6 separate regions of the Homo sapiens genome follow, and regions 2, 3, 4, 5 and 6 are each linked to region 1. The links are contacts of gene promoters, found by promoter capture Hi-C in blood cells and fetal thymus (Javierre and others, 2016). All regions are on one chromosome and are shown on one strand. The core of a region is centred on a gene start or on the middle of the fragment in contact, and the rest is flanking DNA. Distances in the headings are between cores, read along the strand shown.

Evidence for each region. Contacts are between HindIII fragments. The CHiCAGO score rates a contact against its expected background, and 5 or more counts as called.
Region 2: a contact is called between the fragment with the promoter of KDF1 here and the fragment with the promoter of RPS6KA1 in region 1, in 3 of 17 cell types (fetal thymus, endothelial precursors and non-activated CD4 T cells). The highest score is 6.9, in fetal thymus.
Region 3: a contact is called between a fragment that was not itself captured here and the fragment with the promoter of RPS6KA1 in region 1, in 1 of 17 cell types (neutrophils). The highest score is 8.1, in neutrophils.
Region 4: a contact is called between the fragment with the promoter of GPN2 here and the fragment with the promoter of RPS6KA1 in region 1, in 3 of 17 cell types (neutrophils, endothelial precursors and M1 macrophages). The highest score is 8.6, in neutrophils.
Region 5: a contact is called between a fragment that was not itself captured here and the fragment with the promoter of RPS6KA1 in region 1, in 3 of 17 cell types (erythroblasts, neutrophils and endothelial precursors). The highest score is 7.9, in erythroblasts.
Region 6: the fragment with the promoter of PIGV here is called in contact with the fragment with the promoter of RPS6KA1 in region 1 in 3 of 17 cell types (naive B cells, M1 macrophages and megakaryocytes); the score reaches 6.3 in naive B cells.

The regions. Positions count from the first base shown.
Region 1 is chr1:26,528,040-26,531,404 of GRCh38, forward strand. It overlaps RPS6KA1 (ribosomal protein S6 kinase A1), which reads left to right and starts at 1,722. Exons shown (of 22, transcript NM_002953.4): 1 at 1,722-1,944. The coding sequence starts at 1,882. It overlaps LOC124903884 (a long non-coding RNA gene), which reads right to left and starts at 3,359. Exons shown (of 2, transcript XR_007065558.1): 1 at 3,159-3,359; 2 at 1,081-2,522. RefSeq lists a silencer at 1,607-2,086 and enhancers at 2,328-3,238, 3,239-3,365. The HindIII fragment of the contact is 9,367 bases long and covers 611-3,365 here.
Region 2 is chr1:26,958,661-26,962,025 of GRCh38, forward strand. KDF1 (keratinocyte differentiation factor 1) reads right to left here and starts at 1,808. Exons shown (of 4, transcript NM_152365.3): 1 at 1,690-1,808. RefSeq lists an enhancer at 1,246-1,928 and a silencer at 2,798-3,092. The HindIII fragment of the contact is 1,819 bases long and covers 249-2,067 here.
Region 3 is chr1:26,905,731-26,909,095 of GRCh38, forward strand. It overlaps a transcript of NUDC not described here. Among named protein-coding and RNA genes, the nearest start is that of NR0B2, 6.6 kb to the right of the region's middle. RefSeq lists enhancers at 1-392, 430-931. The HindIII fragment of the contact is 8,297 bases long and covers 1-3,365 here.
Region 4 is chr1:26,888,428-26,891,792 of GRCh38, forward strand. GPN2 (GPN-loop GTPase 2) reads right to left here and starts at 1,856. Exons shown (of 5, transcript NM_018066.4): 1 at 1,259-1,856; 2 at 542-698. The coding sequence starts at 1,669. GPATCH3 (G-patch domain containing 3) reads right to left here. Exons shown (of 7, transcript NM_022078.3): 7 at 2,061-2,799. The coding sequence ends at 2,583. RefSeq lists enhancers at 1,017-1,894, 1,250-1,419, 1,930-2,199. The HindIII fragment of the contact is 6,723 bases long and covers 787-3,365 here.
Region 5 is chr1:26,859,043-26,862,407 of GRCh38, forward strand. No RefSeq gene overlaps it. Among named protein-coding and RNA genes, the nearest start is that of SFN, 2.4 kb to the right of the region's middle. The HindIII fragment of the contact is 2,023 bases long and covers 483-2,505 here.
Region 6 is chr1:26,786,202-26,789,566 of GRCh38, forward strand. It overlaps PIGV (phosphatidylinositol glycan anchor biosynthesis class V), which reads left to right and starts at 1,749. Exons shown (of 4, transcript NM_017837.4): 1 at 1,749-2,067. RefSeq lists enhancers at 519-668, 1,189-1,628, 1,675-2,501, 2,189-2,388, 3,196-3,325 and a silencer at 1,679-1,888. The HindIII fragment of the contact is 3,281 bases long and covers 1-3,041 here.

The sequences.
Region 1 (3,365 bases), core at 472-2,971:
TGGGTTCCAAAGTCCTTTCACTCAAAATTCAGTTCAACAGCTGAGGTCCTACCCTGGGAAAGCCATGGAAAAGGGGGAGCACGTGGATTCTGGAGAAATCCTTATCCACTTTGATTTTTTTTTTTTTGAGATGGAGTCTCTGTCGCCCAGGCTGGAGTGCAGTGGGGGCTATCTCCGCTTACTGCAAGCTCCGCCTCCCGGGTTCACACCATTCTCCTGCCTAAGCCTCCCGAGTAGCTGGGACTACAGGTGCCTGCCACCACGCCCTACTAATTTTTTGTATTTTTAGTAGAGACAGGGTTTCATCATGTTAGCCAGGATGGTTTCAATCTCCTGACCTCGTGATCCGCCCGCCTCGGCCTCCCAGTGCTGGGATTACAGGTGTGACACTTTGATTTTTTTAAGCCCTAGTCTGTTCTCAACCTCTTGTGTGACCTTGGGTAAGTCACTTCATCTTTCCGAGCTTGTTTCAGGATTTGTAAACTAGGTGGTGGTAATCATTCAAGGAAATCACATGGCTCGCAGGAAGCTTTTGATAAACATTCCTTCCCATTCCCCTGCCTTAGAACAGCTTTGCAAATAACTGACCAGTCTTCCTGCGAAACCAGCAAGCTTGTCCCTCCAGCAAGCTCACTCCTCACATGTGAATACATCTCAGCACACCCGGACCCCTAAGGCTCTTTAGGTGGAGGCTGAATCTCTCTGGGGCAACCAGTCTCCCTGGCCTTTCACTCCAAGTCCCACCAAGCCTCGGTTCATCCTGGGAGCCTGGTCCCTCCTCAGAGAGTCGCAAACCCAAACTAGTCCAGAGCTGGGGCTGCAGGTGACTCCAGGGAGACCTGACCTGAAAGGACCCCCTTCAAGTGATAGGGCAGAGCACAGATTGCAAAAACGCATATTAAGAAATCACTCTTGGCCGGGCGCGGTGGCTCATGCCTGTAATCCCAGCACTTTGGGAGGCCGAGGCAGGAGGATCACTTGAGCCGGGGAGTCAGAGACCAGCCTAGGTAACAAAGCGAAACTTCGTGTCTCTCTCTCTCTCACTATATACACACATACATACATATATGTGCATATATATAATATTTATTTATACATATTTATTTATATATGTAATATTTATATACATTATGTAAAATCAATCGATCAATCAATCACTCTGTGGTGGCACTATGGGTCCTGATGGTGGTAACAACTGCTGATGCCCATCTTGGCCTGGGGCACTGAGATCGCCCGGAGATCACAGTGTTAGCTTCAGGGCGGGGTAGAAATTAGAGGATAGGGGATCTCTAGGGCCTGGTGAGTTGAGGGCCTAAGGGGAGTGGGTCTCAGGCTCCTTCCAAGCCTCAGCCTAGATCAGGCCCAGGAACCCAGTGTGAATGTGTGTGCTGGGGTCGGGGATAAGGTGCTTCTCTCCCGTTGGAAGGAGAAGGAACATCTGGGCTGGGATTCCAAAAGAGCTGAGCGGGGGAGAACGGTGGCCCTGGTGTGGTGTGTCCAGGGGTACACCACTGGAAGGGAAGGAGCCAGCAGGGCCTCTCCGGCGGAGCCGAGCGCGGGCCGGGGGCTCGCGGCAGGGGCGGGGCCGGCCCTCGGGGCGCGGCGGGGGCGGGGGTCCGCGCTGGGAATGCCGCGCCGCGGGGGCTGGGGCGGGGCTTCTCCGGCTCCGCCCCCGCGCAGGTAGCCAATGGGCGCGGCGGCGCCGGGTGACGGAGGGAGCCGAAGTGCTAGTGCCGCGGCGGCGGCGGCGGACGGCCCAGCCGGAGCGCGAGGGGCTCGGGGGGGCGCGGCGGTTCGGGTCGCAGAGCCAGGGACCCCAGGACCCGGGAGGCGGCGCAGCCGGGGCCGCCGGAGGAGCGCGGGTGACCTGGCGGCGGCGAGATGCCGCTCGCCCAGCTCAAGGAGCCCTGGCCGCTCATGGAGCTAGTGCCTCTGGACCCGGAGGTGAGTGAGCGGGGCGGGGGACGGGCGCCCGCGGCCGGCGAGCCCGGATCCTCACAGGGGCGGGGCGGCCCGAAGCGCCGCTGCAGTCCGGCGGGCGCCCGCGAGGGCGCGAGTGCCCTCCGATCTCTTGCCCACTGTCCGGCTCCACCCCCCTATGCCCGGGTGTGCGTGTGCGAGGGACAGTTCCGCCAAGCGCCGACTACCTCCCCGCCATAGCCAGGAGAGGGGATCCTATGGGGCGCTGAGATCTGGTCGCCTTCACCCCACACCTAGGACCCGTCCCGGCATCTGTCCAGAGCTGTCGGAGCTTCCTCCATTAATGCAGACGGGGAGATCTTCAGTGCCAGATGTCTGGGATTCTACCAGAGACAGGGGTTATGGGACCCCCACTTCTCCCAGGGCCCTCCGCCAAGAGCTCCCTGCTTCTGGCTTCACCGCTGCTGAGCCTAGAAGGATTGCTCCTCTTGACCCCTGGCGGATGCGGAGTGTGGGATGGCACCACCCGTCTGGGGCTGGAACTCCTGGTTTTCTTTGCCCTGAGGCTAGGGCCAGAGGACACCTGTGTGCCCTACCCCAGGCTGTGGAGACGAGAGTGGGGAAGAGCCCTTAGACCTTGTGAAGATGATTCCTGGCAGGGCGTGGGGGGACCTTGGTGCCTGCCTCCCTTCTTATGCCCCTTCCGGTAGGAAGGGCTGGGCCCTTGGGGAGTTTGGCTTCTGCCAGCCCAGACTCCCCAGACAACCCAGCTCCTTCTCTCTCAGAAGCAGCTCCTGACCTCCCTTGAGGGCTCTGTGGCTCCAGTCCCTAAGCGTGCAGAAGGCCACCTCTTCCTGTGCCTTTTGACCCCAGGGTCAAGGTCAAGCCCCTGAATGAGCTGGTGGAAAACTTCCTCCTTAACCTCTTGCTGGGAAGGAAGCAGGTGATATTCTCCTTCCCAGGTGGTTGTTGGGGGTATGCAGGGAGGGAATGGAGACCTCATTTGAGCCCAGGAGCTGAGATGACTTTCTCCCAGCTTGGGCCTGGAGCCCCTGTCTCAGTCCCCTCCTCTGCCCTCTCTTACCTAGGGCAGCCACCAAGTGTCCTGCCTCTCAGGACCACAGGCTTAGATCAGGGTGAGCACCCAGGGTCCCCAGCCCCCAGGGTGTGCTGCCCCTTTAAAGGGATGGCCGACACTGGCTATTGGAGGGTGGGCGCGGCAGGATTAGGTAACCAACCTGAAGGAGCAATTTGGAGTAAATTGCTCTGGGATTCCTGCCATGGGGATTTTACAGGCACTGCTAGGCTGCTCAGAGGTTCTCTCGCTGACTCACCCTCTGAGGTGAGGAACACTGCCCTCTGCAGCCCCTGTACTGCCACCCCGCTACTAGGACCGGGGCGCAAGGTCCTGGGGGTGGTGCTCAGAGGTGGATTCCTTTGCCCAG
Region 2 (3,365 bases), core at 558-3,057, 430 kb after region 1:
ACACAATTGGCCTGGCCCCAGACTCTTATCCACTACCCCATCCCATCTATTACTTGGGAGAAAAGAGGCAGTCAAAGCTGCCAGCTCCATGGACCAGCGTGTGCCCAGAGAGAGCCCATGTTGGGAGCCCTGTCTTCCAGGCTCAAGCCTTCAGGAGAGTGGACAGATCTACAGTTAACCATGCTGAGCTCGGAAGTACGTGGGGCTCCTGAGGATGGACTGGCTATTGTCTTCTCCCCAACCTCCAAAGCTTTAGGACTCTCTATTATTGATTAAATTAATACAACGAGGTGCCCAGCGTTGTGCTAAATGCTGAGAAAACAGCAGTGAATGGGCCAGAGGACTTTCACCTTATTTGACTCTCACAATTGCTCTGAAAATAAGTAGTATATCTCCATTTCACAGATCAGGAATCTGAAGCTCAGAAAGGTGAAGTGACTGGCCCAGAGACACCTAGCAAGAGAGGGCTGGAGTAAGATTTGCACTGTGGCCCGCCAGGCTCTGAAGCCTGCGTACTTTGTGTGTGCCACACATCTCCAGCGGTGGTGGGATGAGAAGAGAAGACCTGGGATAAGGACAATGCCTGCCTCAGTTCCCCACTTCCCTCCAGCCATTGAACCCTCCTGAAGTCAAACTCAGGCAGTTTCTTCCAGGCTGTATCTCCCCGACCCTGCTGCCACCGCCCCGCCACCACCCCGCCCAATCCTAGGAACCTGGTCACTTGGTTTAGTGAGGGGAGACTCCCTGTCCCTATTGTGGCTTGAGGCAAGATTCTTAACCTCACTTTCCTCATCTTTAAATAAGGAGAGACTAGTATCTTCATGCCCCGCCAATCCCGTGAGATTTAAATGAAATATTGAGTGCAGGGGGCTTCCCGCAGTGGCCTTGCCCATGGGAGGGGCTAGGTCACTAGGCGATCTAAGGCACCGCAAGGATGTTCCCGGGGGTCAGAGGGTCCCGGCCCGCCCTCCCTGGATTTCTCGTTGATGCTTTCCTCTTCCCCCTTAGTCCCGCGAACACACACACACACTCAAGGGTCTATGTACCGTCCCCTCCTCCGAGGGTCCCCAGGACAGGCCCGGCCGCACCAGCCTCTGCCCCCAGCCCAGTGCCAAGCCTCGGACACCCGGCCGGGGAGGACCACCCCAGTCCTGCTCGAGAAACAGCCGTCGGCTCAGTGCACCCTCGGCCTCCTGCCCCAAAGGTGCAGCCCGAGAGTCCCATATCCGCGGGCAGCTAGTCCTGGGGACAAGGAAGAACCAGATCCTGGCACTGTCCCCCGGGCTACCACAGCCCCTACACCAACTCTGCCCTCGGGGCGAGCACTACCCTCTCCAGCTGCAAGGGCCCTACCCCGCGGGCGGACCCAGCCTCCCTCCCGTCCCGACGCTGTTCCTCGGGGTGAGCACCAGCGTTTGTCCCATCCCGACGCTGCCCCCCGGTGAGTGCGGCCCCCGCACCCAGCCAGTGCAGCCCTAAGGGCGAACGCGGCCCCTCACCCCATTCTGCGCGCCCAGCCCGGGCGCCCGCTCAGGCCGCTCCCCAGCCCGGCCCGCGCACCCCGGAAGTAGGAGGGTGGCCCCCGAGGAACCGGGCCCGGGACCCTCTCCTGTCCGGGCTCAGCTTCGGGGGGCTCCCGACACCGGCGCCGCCCTGGCTTGCGCCCCCCTGGGCCCGCGCCGGGCTTACCTGTCCCGCCAGGTGAGCCGCCTCCGGCTCAGCCCCTCCCCCGCCCCCTCGCCGCTCACCTGGGGCGCAGGTGAGCGTCTCGCGGGAGCGCTGCACGGGCCGCCGCTAGGGACACACTTCCTGCCTCCGCGAAGCGCTACCGCGCACCTGGACCGAGGCCCCGCCCCGGGGCTCTGCAGAGCTGCGCGTCCCCGCTCGAGTGCTCGGCCCGTTCAGCCTAGTCCGGGTAGGTGAGGTGTGGCGGGGAGGGGTCGAGAGGCGCTGGGGCTCAGTCTCCTCTTCTGTTCAACAGGCTGGTGGTCCTGTCAGTCTCTGAGCACCTGTGGAACTTCTGCCCGGCCGTAAAGCTCCAACTCAAAGGGAAGCTCTCTTCTGGGAAGCTTTCCCTGATCCTGTCTGTTTTTCTGTTGGTTAGAACAGTCCCTGTACTCAGCACACTGTCGTTTTGTTGTCTTCTGTCTCCTCCTTTAGCCTCCTACCTTGCAGGGTTTGGTCTTGTTCCCCTGTGTTCCTGGTGCTCAGCACAGGTCCTGGCACATACTAGGTGTTCAACAAATATTTTCCACTGAATGAGGCCCTGGGCCCCAATTTCTCCCTTTGCCCTGAGGCAGAACTGGGAGCCTGGGCCGCTGATCAGTTTACCTTTTCTTTTGTTCAGAGAAATCTGCAGGTAAAGACAGGAACCTCAGCTCTGAGGCCCCGAGTAGGGTAGAGGAGGGGGACCGGATATGCAGCTCTGAAAGATACATCCAGGATCAGAAGTGGTGGCCAAAATGGGCCATGGTCACTACATCCAAAAAAGGTCTCTGCAAGAGGCAACACCATTGAATGTCAATAAGGCAAGGCTCAGACTATTCTGGGTTACTGTTCCCCTTAATATTAATAACAACTCAATAACTTAACAATAGCATTAATAAACAAGTGACTTGGCCGGGCGCAGTGGCTCATGCCTGTAATCCCAGCACTTTGGGAGGCCGAGGCGGGAGGATCGCGAGGTGGGAGTTTGAGACCAGCCTGGCCAACATAGTGAAACCCAGTCTCTACTAAAAATACAAAAAATTAGCCTAGCATGGTAGCAAGTGCCTGTAATCCCAGCTACTCGGGAGGCTGAGGCAGGAGAATGGCTTGAACCCAGCAGGCAGAGGTTGCAGTGAGCCGAGATCGCGCCATTGCACTCCAGCCTGGGCGACAGAGCGAGACTCTGTCTCAAATAAACAAAACAAACAAACAAACAAGTGACTTTTAGGGAGCATCTCCAGGAGCCATGCATGCCGAAGCCGTTAATCTGTGAAGTGGGTCAGGTATTATCATATCCATTTTACAGTAAGAGGAAACTGAAGCTTAGAGAGGGGACATTGTTTGCTCAGGCAGTTGGCACAAACTGACTTTTGGCAAGGCACTTTCCTTCTCTAAACCTAATCTCTGGAGATAGTAGTACCTCTCTTTAACTGGGAGGATTAAAAGAGATCATGGATGCAACAGGAAGATATCACTGGGATGCATTAGGCATAGGTGTTCAATTTCCACCAGAGACCCTCCATCCCAGCGCCTCCCACCACATCTTGTCCACATTCCCTCCTGAGGAAAGTGCACATTGTATTCTTATTTGGAGCTCAGAGAATGAGTCACATCCTCACTTCACAGTCACATCTTGTGCAGTTGAACATCTGTGTACT
Region 3 (3,365 bases), core at 447-2,946, 380 kb after region 1:
AAGAGGCAGGTCAGCTCACCCTTTCTGAAACTACAATTTCTCCAAGATTTTCAACCCAAAATGATCAAGATACCAGTTTGGCACATTGGCACATCCTTCACTCCTTGAGTTTCTTTGTCTATAAAATGGATGGAGGCCGGGCATAGTGGCTCATGCCTATAATCTCAGCACCTTGGGAGGTGGAGGTGGGTGGATCACCTGAGGTCAGGACTTTGAGACCAACCTGGCTAACATGGTGAAACCCCGCCTTTACTAAAAAATACATAAAAGGCCGAGCGCAGTGGCTCACGCCTGTAATCCCAGCACTTTGGGAGGGCGAGGCGGGCGGATCACCTGAGGTTGGGAGCTTGAGACCAGCCTGACCAAATGTAGAAACCCCGTCTCTACTAAAAATACACAATTAGCAGGGCGTGGTGGCGCATGCCTGTAATCCCAGCTACTTGGGAGGTTGGGCAGGAGAATCATTTGAATCTGGGAGGTGGAGGTTGCGGTGAGCTGAGATCGCGCCACTGAACTCCACCCTGGGCAAGAGAGTGAGACTCTGTCTCAAAAAAAAACGAAAAAATACAAAAAGCATTAGCTGGGTGTGGTGGCGCATGCCTGTAATCCCAGCTACTCGGGAAACTGAGGCACAAGAACCGCTTGAACCCAGGAGGTTGCAGTGAGCCGAGATCGCACCACAGCACTCCACCCTGGGCAACAGAATGAGACTGTGTCTCAAAAAGAAAGATAAAGCGGTTGGAGATAATGATAGTACTTCCAGCACAGAGTTGTGAGAGTGAAATACCATAATCCAGGAAATGTGTTTAGAGCACAGCTCTCAATAAATGTTACGTGGGCCGGGCGTGGTGGCTCACACCCGTAATCCCAGCACTTTGGGAGGCCAAGGCAGGCGGATCATGAGGTCAGGAGATCAAGACCATCCTGGCTAACATGGTGAAACCCTGTCTCTACTAAAAATACAAAAAATTGGCCGGGCGTGGTGGCGGGCGCCTGTAGTCCCAGCTACTCGGGAGGCTGAGGCAGGAGAATGGTGTGAACCCGGGAAGTGGAGCTTGCAGTGAGCTGAGATTGCACCACTGCACTCCAGCCTGGGCGAATGAGCAAGACTCCGTCTCAAAAAAAATAATAATAATAAAAATAAATAAATAAATAAATGTTAATGTGGTTATAGTTTAGTAGCTACCCAGAGTGAGCACCCACAGCCTGGGGTTTCTTCTGGCCATACCCTGCCAGGAAGAGGAGGTCTCCTTTGTTAACTCTGACTCCCCTGAGATCTTAGCATTGTCGCCTCCACCAGTTTCATTGGGATTTCCTTTCTTTGCTGTCTTGTTCTGTGAGGTGGTCCCTGTCATCTCTCCAGGCCCATTTCCTCCTACCCTGGGCCCCACACATCACTTGCAGTTAACTAAGCACCTCTTGCTCTCTGACATCTCTGTGCCTTTGCATATATCTGTTTGGAATGCCCATCCCTTGGGTTGCCTAGCAAAACCCTGTTCATTCTCTTTAGCTCAAACCAGTCACCACTTGGGTAAAGCATTTTTCCCACCTTCAGGCAGATTTAATCTCTCCTGTTGCCTGTTGTATGTACCCCTATCACAGCTCAGATCACTCTGCATTACAATTACTTACATGTCTTCCTCTGCCACAGACAAGATGTTTCATGAGAGTAAGAAATGTATCTTATTTATTCTGTGCCCCCTACCCCAGCATCTAGTACAGGGGTTGGTACAAATGGAGGTTGAGAGACATTGAGTGATAGAATGAATTAATGGATGGATAGTGGGTGTTGGCTTTTTGCCAGCATCACGGGTTCTAGGATATTTGAATGCCCCAAGGACAGGGTGGAGTTAATGCGGGACACAGCATGCGTCAGCTGTCTGACTACTTAATAGGCAGTCAACGATTTGGCTAATGAAGATAGAGATAATGATGGCAATAAAATGGTACTCTAGGCTGACCCAGAGCCACAGCCACTCTCCTGCTTTCCAGTGAGTCATCCCTGGCTGGGCCTGAGGACAGGAATCATGGCTCAGAGGTAGATGGTCAGTCAACAGTGGCTGAGCTGGTTCCAGACCGCTTGATCCTGGCCATGACTCACTCCAGCTTGTGCTGCTGACAAGAACCCTCCAGAACTTCACAGGTTTGAGTACAAGTCTCAGCACAGGCCAGGTGCGGTGGCTCATGCCTGTAATCCCAGCACTTTGGAAGGCCAAGGCAGGTGGATCACCTGAGGTCAGGAGTTTGAGACTAGCCTGGCCAACATCGTGAAACTCTGTCTCTACTAAAAATACAAAAATTAGCCAGGCGTGGTGGTGGGTGCCTGTAATCCCAGCTACTTGGGAGGCTGAAGCAACGGAATTGCTTGAACCCGGGAGGCGGAGGTTGCAGTGAGCCGAGATCGCGCCACTGCACTCCAGCCTGGGCAGCAAGAGTGAAACTCCATCTAAAAAAAAAAAAGAGTCTTAGCACAGACAGTGATCAGCCCAGACCTTAAGTTACATACGCCATCTGAGCCTGTTTCCTCCTCTTCCCTCACTGGCAATGAGACACAGATCCCAACCCAGGATGCTGATCATGGAGACATACTTCCCCACTTTTGGAAAGCCTACAGTCTCATGGAGAAAGCACGATTCCCCTTACCACATTGTACCGTAATTATCTCTTTAGTTTTGCCATATTTGTCTTTATGTTCTTTGCTCAAGGCAAGGAAATAGGGCACGGGGAATGACTCAAGAAACGCAGACAAGAAACAGAAGTGTAGCTCCCCAACCATGTGGATTGGTAGGGAAGAAATTTGAAAAGGATCAAGGTAGAGATTTTTCTTGTTGTTTTTTTATTTGTTTTGAGACAGGGTCTTGCTCTGTCACCCAGGCTGGAGTGCAGTGATGCTCCCATGCTCACTGCAGCCTCCAACTCCCAGCTCAAGTGATCCTCCCACTTCAGCCTCTCGAGTGGCTGGGACTACAGACATAAGCCACCATACCTAGCTTACTTTATTTTATTTTACTTTTATTTATTTATTTTTTGAGATGGAGTCTCACTTTGTCGCCCAGGCTGGAGTGCAGTGGTGCAATCTCGATTCACTGCAACCTCTGCCACCTGGGTTCAAGTGATTTTCGTGCCTCGGCCTCCCGAGTAGCTGGGAGCCACCGCACCTGGCTAATTTTTGTTTTAGTAGAGACGGTGTTTCACCATCTTGGCCAGGCTGGTCTTGAACTCCGACCTCGTGATCCGCCTGGCCTTATTTTTTAATTTTTTTGAGACAGAGTCTCACTCTGTCGCCCAAGCTGGAGTGCAGTGGTGCGATCTCGGCTCACTGCAACCTCCACCTCCCAGGTTCAACCGATTCTCCTGTCTCAGCC
Region 4 (3,365 bases), core at 606-3,105, 360 kb after region 1:
AAATATTTATTGGCTAAGCCATCTGGTCTATGGTATTTTTGTGATGGCAGCACAAACTGACTAAGACAAGGCCTTTATTCCTACTAGTGCCTCTGCATAGAACAGTCCTCCCTTGGCTGGCTCCTTCTCACCATTCATGTCTCAGCTCAGATGCCACTGCTTCAGAGCAGAAGTGAGAAACTGAGGTCCAGAGAGATGAACTGACTTACCCAGACCACACGATGATTCAGTGGCAGATCCAGAATTTAAACTCATGCCTGTTTTACTCCAAAGCTCACTCACTTCACTCCCAAATATTCACTGTCGTATCACTTTAATTCCTTTGTAACACCTAACACCATCTGTAGCTCTCTTGTCTCCAAAATCTACAACGGTAACTAGCACAGAGTGGCACAAAATAAATGGGCAGGAGTTAGAACCTGCCTGTGGCTACTATCACCAGACCACGCAAGGCACCAGAGGCAGCTACCTTCAGCTGAGATGTCTGCTTCATTCTAGCCCAGCTGCTGCCCTGCTCTTCGCCTGGAACAGAAGCTCTTACCCAGCTTCCCATAATGCTCAATGAGGTCCATCTTGGAAAGGAGGTTGATGTGGGGCAGTTCCACGTGCAGCATGGTGGCCAGGGAGGTACACAGTACTGAAATGAACTTGGCAGGGTCTGTGCAGTAGTGAGAATCCACGAGGTGGACGGCAGTCAGCTGGGAGGGAATAGACAGGGTGAGAGTGGCCTGGAGAAACAGGGATCAGCATTCCCTCATGAGAATGAGGGCTTGAGGACAGAGGGGAAGCTTTCCCCATTAGTCTCCTGCCTCTGTTTCTTTCTAATAACCACCCTGGTTTCCTTCTCCCAGGAAATAGGAGTCATTTTTTTTTTCTTACAAGAGGTCTTGCACTGAGCCTCCCAGTGGGCAAGGGGTTTAAATCCCATGGCATCTGACTCCACTCTTTCATTTACTTTTGCCCACCAATTTACAACAATCTCCATGCCACTTTCGACATTAACCCCTTCCATACTTCCAAAATCGCCAAGTTGGCTACTAACACATTTTACACGTGAGGAAACTGAGGTTCAGAGTGATGAACTGACTTATCAACACCACACAGCCAGTCAGTAGCAGAGCCAGATTCTGAACTCATGCCTGTTTTACTCCAAAGCGACCCAGCCCCTACCTCCCTGTGTGACATGGGGGCGTGGCGTCTGTCCTCCCTGTCTCAGTTACTCCATCCGCAAAATGGGCCTCCCCGCCCTGAGACGCACCCTGAGGTCCCACTGCGCCATTTGGGAGAAGATGCTGCGCAAGGCGCCGTGATGCGTGCAGAGCTCCACCTGGCCTGGGCAGTCGAAGAGGAAGTAGTGGCCGCGGAGGGGGTCGAGCTTGGCACGCAGCCAGTCCAGGTTGGCTTCCAGGTACTCCATGCAGTAGAGCAGGCCGCCGTTGGGCCCCAGGCGCAGCGCGTCCATCACGTCGCCCAGCCCCACCAGCTCGCCCACGTCCACGGCACACTCGTACGGCAGCCCCTCGTTGGCCGGGTCCAGGTTCACCACCGCCACGCGCCGGCCCAGCGCGCGCAGGAACTCACTCATGCCCAGGCAGTACGTGGTCTTCCCTGAGCCCGGCGGGCCGATCACCGCCTGCCCGAAGGCCGTGGTCGGAGCGGCCCCTGCCATTGGCGGCCCGCGGCCCGGAGCAGGTCAACTCACAGGGAAAACGGGGCAGGTAGCCGCGCCGGAGACGAGACTGAGGGCGAGGGTCCCAGTACGTATACCTCGTTGGCGGCCAGCGTCACTCGCCTCAGGCGGAACAGCTGAGACCGTGTCGCGCAAAAGGAGATAACAGGCCGATACTAACTAGACTAACTCGACTTCCGGACAGCGTCGGAAACGGCGAGCCAACGAGAGGAAGTCCCGCCCTCACGGCGGGGACGAAGCTAGACGCCGAGGGGCGGGCGGCGCAGCCGCATTTCTCTCGCGGGTAGTGGGTCGAATGTGGGGTCTTTGCGGGAAAATCGCTCTCGGAATTTCTCTAACCTTCAGACTCGAATTAGAAAAGTAAGGGAGCTCCAGTAGTAAACGTCTTTATTCTTCCGTGACGTCGCACACCCAAGCCACCTCCCGCGGACTCTCCGCTGGCAGTCCCACCCAGTGAGGGTAGAGGCGGTGGAGGGCCCACCCAAGGCCGGCTCTTCCAAGCACCACAAATCCTCTCCTCGCCCAGGTCCCTTTCCCCCTTTCTGGCCTTCGTGGGGACACCTTCAGAGTCCCCAAGGAAGGCTGTGCTGATAGCCTCACTCAACCCAGCTTTTCAAAGTTCTGCAGGAGGCAAAGGGCAAGCCCAGAGATTAGGGTTAGAGACCAAAGACAAGCGGTCGTTACCCCTAATATCCAAGGGGAGGGGACGGGAGGGGGCTTTTTGTAAAAATGCCCCTGAGGTATAGAACCGGCAGGCAGGCAGGCTCGGAACAAAACACCCTGAACCAGCCACGAAGACTGCTGCTCCCAGACTCCTTTCTGCTTCAGTGGTAGATGAGGCCAGGGCAGAGGGTTTTCATCATGTAGCTATGAAAGGAAGCCCCCAACCCGGTCAGTCAGGCAATGAGGGGCTGTCTGAAGCACAACTGGAACCCCTCACAAAGGCCATGTCTGTCCGAAACTTCATGCTGGTGGGTGGCTGGCGGCGGAGCAGTGACTCCGTCTGGTCTTGGGGTAGAGGCTCATCATAGATGGTGGAGATGAGCCCCAAGCCATTTCTACGGGGCCTCTTCAGTTGCCCAAATGGCTGTAGCTTCTCTCCATGGTACCTGGATAAAAACGGGCTCTCAGTGAGAAGGCTGCTCTCAAACTCCAGTTAAAGGGGTTGGGAGAGGACGGGGAAGTAGTTACTACATATCTGGTTTGTCCAAAGACAGAGGCTTTAAATCTGGGTCTTTGTTCTCCAGCCCTCTTATCTATCCATTGACAGTGCCAGCAAGAAGGGGCCTCATATAAAATTTTCATTCTGTCACTACAGACTTCCTAATAGTAACCATCAAGTCCAAACTCCTCCAACAAAGGGTATGAATGATCTTGTTAAGCCTTAGGGCTTACTCTTTAAAAAAAAAAAAAAAGTCAGATTTACTTTATTTATTTATTTATTTCTGAGATGGGGTCTCACTATGTCACCCAGGCTGGATTGTAATGGCGTGATCTCGGCTCACTGCAACCTCCACCTCCTGGGTTCAAGCGATTCTCCTGCCTCAGCCTCCAGAGTAGCTGGGACTACAGGCGCATGCCACCATGCCCAGCTAATTTTTTTTTTTTGTGACAGAGTCTTGCTCTGTCACCCAGGCTAGAGTGCAGTGGCGCCATCTTGGCTCACTGCAACCTC
Region 5 (3,365 bases), core at 244-2,743, 330 kb after region 1:
TCCTGCTGACTCAGACAGCTGACTGTGGAGCTCCATGCCCTGCCAGGGCCTGCTGCCTCCTGCCCGTCTGAGCTCCTGAACTTGGGAAATGGAGGCCCAGAGGCAAAGGGAGGTACCTGAGACAGGAACTGAGTCAGGATCAACAGGCCAGAGCGGGCAGGAGGTATCAGGCAGCCTGGCTCCCAGATGCACCCCTGAGCTCCAGCAGGGGAGGAGTAGGAATGAAGGGGCTTCCTTGCCCTTGCTCATGGCTATGCGGAGGGCGTGAACCACCACCAGGTCCTCTGGCTTAAGTGGCGGGAAGCAAATGGTCCCTCCCTGGACTCAGGCTCCAAAGTTCCTGGGCCTGCCTTCCAGGTTCCCAGTGTCCTGGGATCTCCAGCTTTCCCCAGGACTTGGGGAAGCCCCGGCTGGATGACTAGTACAAATGAAGGCCCCTGAGGTTCCAGGACCTGCTGAGGTCACAGGAATATCCTAGATCAAGCTTGTCCAACCCACGGCCCACAGGCTGCATGTGGCCCAGAATGGCTTTGAATGCAGCCCAACACAAATTAGTAAACTTTCTTAAAACATTATGAGATTTTTTTGCAAATTTTTTTTTTTTTTTAGCTCATCAGTTATTGGTAGTGTTGGTATATTTTATGTGTGGCCCAAGACAATTCTTCCAATGTGGCCCAGGGAAGCCAAAAGATTGGACACGCCTGTCCTAGATGGAGAGGAAGGAGGCAGTGCTGAGCACATCTGGCCATTCATCCATCTGGAGAGAGAAGGCTATGGGCAAACTGCTTCCTCTCCCCTGTAGACACCCAGCTGGGAAGGTCTGGCCTTTGGCTAAGTCCTGGCTTGGGGTCCTTCCTCATTTCACAGAACCTAACTCTATGTTAGTGCTTTGTGAGTATATGTTGATCATAATAAAGTTGACGGGATTTTTTCACATGATAATAATAGTTGTCATCTGGCCGGGCATGGTGGCTTATGCCTATAATTTCAGCACTTTGGAAGGCTGAGGCAGGTGGATCACTTGAGGTCAGCTGTTCGAGACCAGCCTGGCCAACATGGTGAAACCACATCTCTACTTAAAAAAAAAAAAAATACAAAAATTAGCTGGGTGTGGTGGTGCACCCTTGTAATCCCAGCTACTCGGGAGGCTGAGGCAGGAGAATCACTTGAACCCAGGAGGTGGAGGTTGCAGTGAGCTGAGATTGTGCCACTACACTCCAGCCTGGGTGACAAGAGCGAAACTCCGTCTCAAAAAAAAGAAAATAATAATAATAATAGTTGCCATCCATTCTACTGTGCTTTCCATTAACTCGTGTAATCCTCACAAGTCCCATTTTATAGTTACAGGAACTGAGGCTCACAGAGCTTAAATCACTTGGCCAAGGCCACAAACAGCTATAAGAATTACATTTAGGCAGTCTGATTCCAAAGATACTAGTCTATTCTGTATCTCATAGACAAACAATACATATTCACTTTTTTGTTGTTGTTTTGTTTTGAGACGGAGTCTTGCTCTGTCACCCAGGCTGGAGTGCAGTGGCGCCATCTCGGCTCACTGCAAGCTCCGCCTCCCGGGTTCAAGCGATTCTCCTGCCTCAGCCTCCCGAGTAGCTGGGACTACAGGCATGTGCCACCATGCCCGGCTAATTTTTTGTATTTTTAGTAGAGACAGGGTTTTCCTGGGTTAGCCAGAATGGTCTCGATCTCCTGACCTTGTGATCCACCCACCTCAGCCTCCCAAAGTGCTGAGATGACAGGCGTGAGCCACCGCGTCCGACCTATATTCACTATTTATAAATTGGAGAGAATAAGAAAATCAAAAGGGCCAGGTGTAGTGACTCACACCTGTAATCCCAGCACTTTGGGAAGCCAAGGCAGGAGGATTGCTTGAACCCAGAAGTTCGAGACCAGCCTGGGCAACATGGTGAGACCCTGTCTCTACAAAAAAATACAAAAATTAGCTGGGCGTTGTGGTGAGCACCTTATTCTTAGGAAGCTGAGGCAGGAGGATCACCTGAGGCCAAGGAGGTTGAGACTGCAGTGAGCTGTGATCATACCACTGTACTTCAGCCTGGACATCAGAGTAAGACCCTATCTCTAAAAAGGAAATTGAGAAGAAAGAAAATCAAAGGGAAGCAAAATCACTCACTCTCACTACCTCAAGATACCCTCTAGAAGTTGGTATTTTAGTGTGGTTCCTATTGTTTTCTGTGTCAGTTCTCTGATTTGAGCAAAATCTTTGGGACGTCAAACTTAAAATCCCCTTTACTTCCTTGGAAACCCTGTAGCATTAGCCCAGACATGTCCCTACTCCTCCTTGTGGCAAAGAGAAGGATCTCGTCTTTGGTCCCCAGAGTTCTGGCCTAAGCCTCCCTCCAGGAGGGAAGATGAGTGTTCAGACACTCAGAGTAGCTGGGGGAGACACAGGCCTGTGAAATTATCCTGGCTCAACTATTAGGTCGGCAGAATCCCAGTGAAGGGAGCCCTACCTCTGAGCCCCATCTAAGCTTTGGCTATGGGTGGGGCAGATAAGCAGGAATCCATCCCTATAGGCTCAATGCCAACACCCTTAGGTGAAACTCTTGATGAAACTTGAGGCCAGGGCTCCGGCAAGCAGGGAAAGAACGTTGGCAACAGAGGTCTCCATCTCTGAGGACTCTGCCAGGGGTCAGAGATGGGGCAATGGTCAAAAGGAAGGAACAGGCCAGGCACAGTGGCTCATGCCCATAATCCCAGCACTTTGGGAGGCTGAGGCAGGAGGATCGCTTGAGCCCAGGAGTTTGAGACCTGCCTGGGCAATGTAGTGAGATCTGCTCTCTATTTAAAAAAAAAAAAAAGGAAAGAACAAGTAAACTTCTGAGAAACAGGCTGGGGGAGGCATCACGTAGCTGGAATTGCTGCCCCATAAAACAGAATGGTATGTGTCACTGCCACCTCCCTTTCTCAGTCCTCTCTCTCCCCAGGTTGCTAGCGTCCCCCCTGGGGGATCAAACTGGACTGCTTCCCAGCCTCAGACAGAGAGCAGTCTGAGTCAGGCAGGAAAGTGGGACAGCCGGGGAGCTGGACCCCACCCTCTGTGAGCCCCGCTGGTACCTGATGGCATGTGGCTTGGAGAGGGCAGGTGACCTGGCGTGGAGGGCCAGAGGGTAAATCCTCAAACAAGTGGCAACAGGCCACCAACTTGAAAGGGAAAATTGTGTAGTGATGGGAAATGTGTCCAACAAACCTACTGGGTGACTAATTACAAAGGCTGGGCTGGAGCTTCAGAGGCTGCTTGTTAAACACTTCATTAAGCGGCACTCTGAAAGCTGCCACCTGCGCATTCTGGGAGCTCAGAGGGGACCCTGAGGGGGAATGAGGCCTGG
Region 6 (3,365 bases), core at 499-2,998, 260 kb after region 1:
GCTGCCTCCGTCACTACTCAAAGCCTTGGAGTCCCAGAATCCCCTCCTATCCCACCTAGCCTTCTTCCAATCTGAAACCAGGGAGTCAGGGCTTTGAGAGCACAAGATTCAGCTTCCTTGTTTTCCTGTCAGAGCAGAAGTCAGAAAATGAAACAGGAAACAGAGCGGAAGAGGAGGGGGTTGGGTAGCAGAGAAGGAAAAGAGAAATTGCAGGAAAGTACAGCTGAAAATCTGGATAAAGTTCTACCTCTACAGGGTGACAGCTGAGCTTTTAAAAAACATTCTGACTTGTCTTGAGAGACCCCTGGCCTTTTTACAAATAGATTTTTGAGAGAATTTGATGTGGACAGAGGGAACCCTGAGAATGCATGTCTTTTTTCCCCTTGTGAATTTACAGAGCAAGGACAGTTCATTTCTCAGTTTTGTCTTTGCAGAGAGAGTGCTGCTTGGAGCCTCATGGTGGACTTCTAGAGATTCAAGTCACAGCCTTAGGCCCCAGTCACAAGTGTGTCCCCAGGCTTTGCCACGTTACTCACAGGCCTCTGGAGCTGAGAACAAGTGCGTGGCACTGAAAAACCTGGGGGAAGGGCCATGAAACTCCATTTTTTCCCCCTTCTCCAACACACAACGACTAAATATGATTTGCCTTTTCTCCACCTTGCACACAACAGATATCTGAAGGCAATTTAGGTCTCAGGGCCTGAAATGAGTTACAGAGTCAAGAGATACAGTCCCAGGCCCCCACAGACTGATGTGGGCTGGTCTTCGCCTGGAGAGGTAGCAACCATCTCTTTGTTCCCACCCACATGAGTAGCCGTTGCAGAAGATAAACCCCTCCCTGAGCCAGGCTGTGGCCAGAGGCTAACCCGGCCCCTGGCTTCGTTTGGAGGGCAGATAACTGAAACCACATAAGGCTTTGGAATCCTGAGAAACAAGAAATCCACCAACGGAGAAGGATTTATCATCTGTTTCCTTTAAGGAGGGTGCAAAGTTGTTCTAACAGTTTCCGTTACAAGGGTACAAACTGGCCGCTCCCCCCAATAGACGGTTTTGTTGAGTTCGCCTCTTTTTTTTTCTTCTTTTTTTGGCCCCACTTCCTATGAGAGAAACTGCTTGGGTGAGGGAGGTGAAAGGAGCCCTGGAGGGTGTTCTCTGAGGTTTTCTTCACCATCCTCATTAGCCACCTGAGGTGGGGCTGAGGACTAAAGTAGGACAGAAGGTCTCTGGTAGATAGAGGAGGGGAAAATCAGGGGGATCCCCCACTTTCTTCACACCCAGGACGCAGGGTGCCGCTGCCGGCCACAGAAACCCCAAGAATGTTTTTCTTTGGCTATTCAGAGGACATCTATTGTGTGTCAGGCCCTGTGCTGAGCTGTTGTTGCCTGACAGCAGGAAGAGCGCGGCTCTGGTTTCTGTGAAGAGGCTGCGGGTCAGCCTCCGACTACAAGAGCCTCGGCCCACACCGGGAACTCAGTGAACGTCAGCGGGAGCTGGGGCAAGAGCACTGACTCTGAGACAGCAGCCTCCGCTCACTATTTGAAGGCGGGGTGGCGGGGGGCCTTGAAGGAGAGCGAAGTGCGAGAGAACTCTTCAGGTGTCACCAAGGTGGGAAGGTGCTACGAGGCGAGGCGCCGAGCGGCGACCCCCATCCCGCTCGCCCGGAGTCAACATGGCCGCCGCGCAGGGAGGCGGGGCTGCTCCAAGTCCGGGCAGGAGCGGGGCGGGGACGCCGTCGGCGGAGCCAGCGCGCAGGCGCGGGCCGCGTGGGCCCCGGATGGAGGAGCTGAGGTTCGGTCCCCGCCGGGGAGGTCGGGACGGGCAGGGGCTGAGGACCCCGCGCCAGCTTGGGAGCCCTGGAGTTCTGGCGGGAGGGAAGCTGTCAAATGGAAGCCGGTAGAAATGAGACAGACGCCCGGAGAAGCGGGGAGCCCCGCCCCTCCGCCATAGCAGCCTCGGGCGCCGCCTCTTCCTTTCCAGCCTCCCGCCCTCGTCTGCTTCCGGCCCTGTGGCCTGGTGGGGCTCTGCAGGCTCCCTCGGGAGTGGTCCTTGGGCCGTGGCCCCTCTGGGGTGAGCGTGGATGATTAGTACCCAGAAGGGACTGTGTCCAAAAGGAGCCGGCCAGAAACGGGTTGCGGACACGGCTGGGCTGACAGAAGGCAGCCCCCACGAGGCCTTTGGCTCTGAGGACCCTGGGTCAGAGCGACTTCTCCAGCCTGCGCAGGGGGTGTTAGTCTTACCCAGAGGGTCCAGAGCTGCCGTTCAACAGGATGTCCCAGATTCTCAGATAGGGCCCAACTACCCTAAGCATACCTAGCAAGGGCAGGCTGCGGCATGGAAGTACTGGGCTAGGCGTTTGGGTGACCTGGGTCATAATCCTGGCTCGGAAAGGGCGCGTACCCTTTGGCGAGGGATGCGGGCTGGTACCGTGAGGTTTAAGAAGCAGAAAACATGACAGCCTCTTTAAGTAGCCCTGGGTACGTCACTTGACCCCAGTGAGCCTCAGTTTCCATATCCATAAAATGGCGATGGTAATTATACTAGCCTCACAGTGTCTGATGAGATCTCTGGAGCCTATTTATCTCACGGGAAAATTTTTGAAGAGTGAAACTAGTTGATCTGTAAGTGTCCTGCCAGTTAAGAGTCTGTGATTTGGCAAAGGGGTTGTTGGGAAGTGAGGTGGGCAATTAGCTGAGAGGGAGAATTGACTAGCTTTGTTTTTACTTGGTTTACCTGTAAGCAAAGTGTGGGCTACACACATCTGTAGTCGCTGAGGCTAGAGCTTGACTCGAGAGAGGAAAGGAAGAATGCAAGCATGGTCAAGTGGCAGAGGTGGGTTAGGTGCTTTTCTGATCCCAGCTTCTCTTCTGCATGCGCGTGGGAAGCCAAGGAAGAGGAAAAAAGAGTGAATTCGCCCTAGGATAGGGAAGGAGTAGCCGCGTGAGGTTGAGTATGCCCATTTCCGTGATTTCTCTCGATTCAGCGAGTCATACGTTGGAAACGTTTAGATTCACAAACTATCGTTACTGTCTGGGGCTTTCAGAAGCTTGCCTTTGAACCGAATTTTCGTGAGCCAACCGGTGTGGAATTGGGGGCCCCTCCCTTCCTCCAGGCCTCCTGGCGATGGAGTAAGCAGCAGGCGCCCCCTTGTGCCAAGGAAAGAGTACTGTTGCCATTGGCCAACTTGGCTCCCTTTCTGGGGAAATTTTATTTTCCTGTGGCTTCTGTGACTTTGTCGTCTTGCTCTTGACATGAGATATGATGGGAAGAATACTTGGGGCACTGATTTCATATCTAGAGTCAGTGAACTGCTGATGCTGTATCCTGTCCCTACCACTTCCATTCATTCAGAACACAGGTTTAAGATG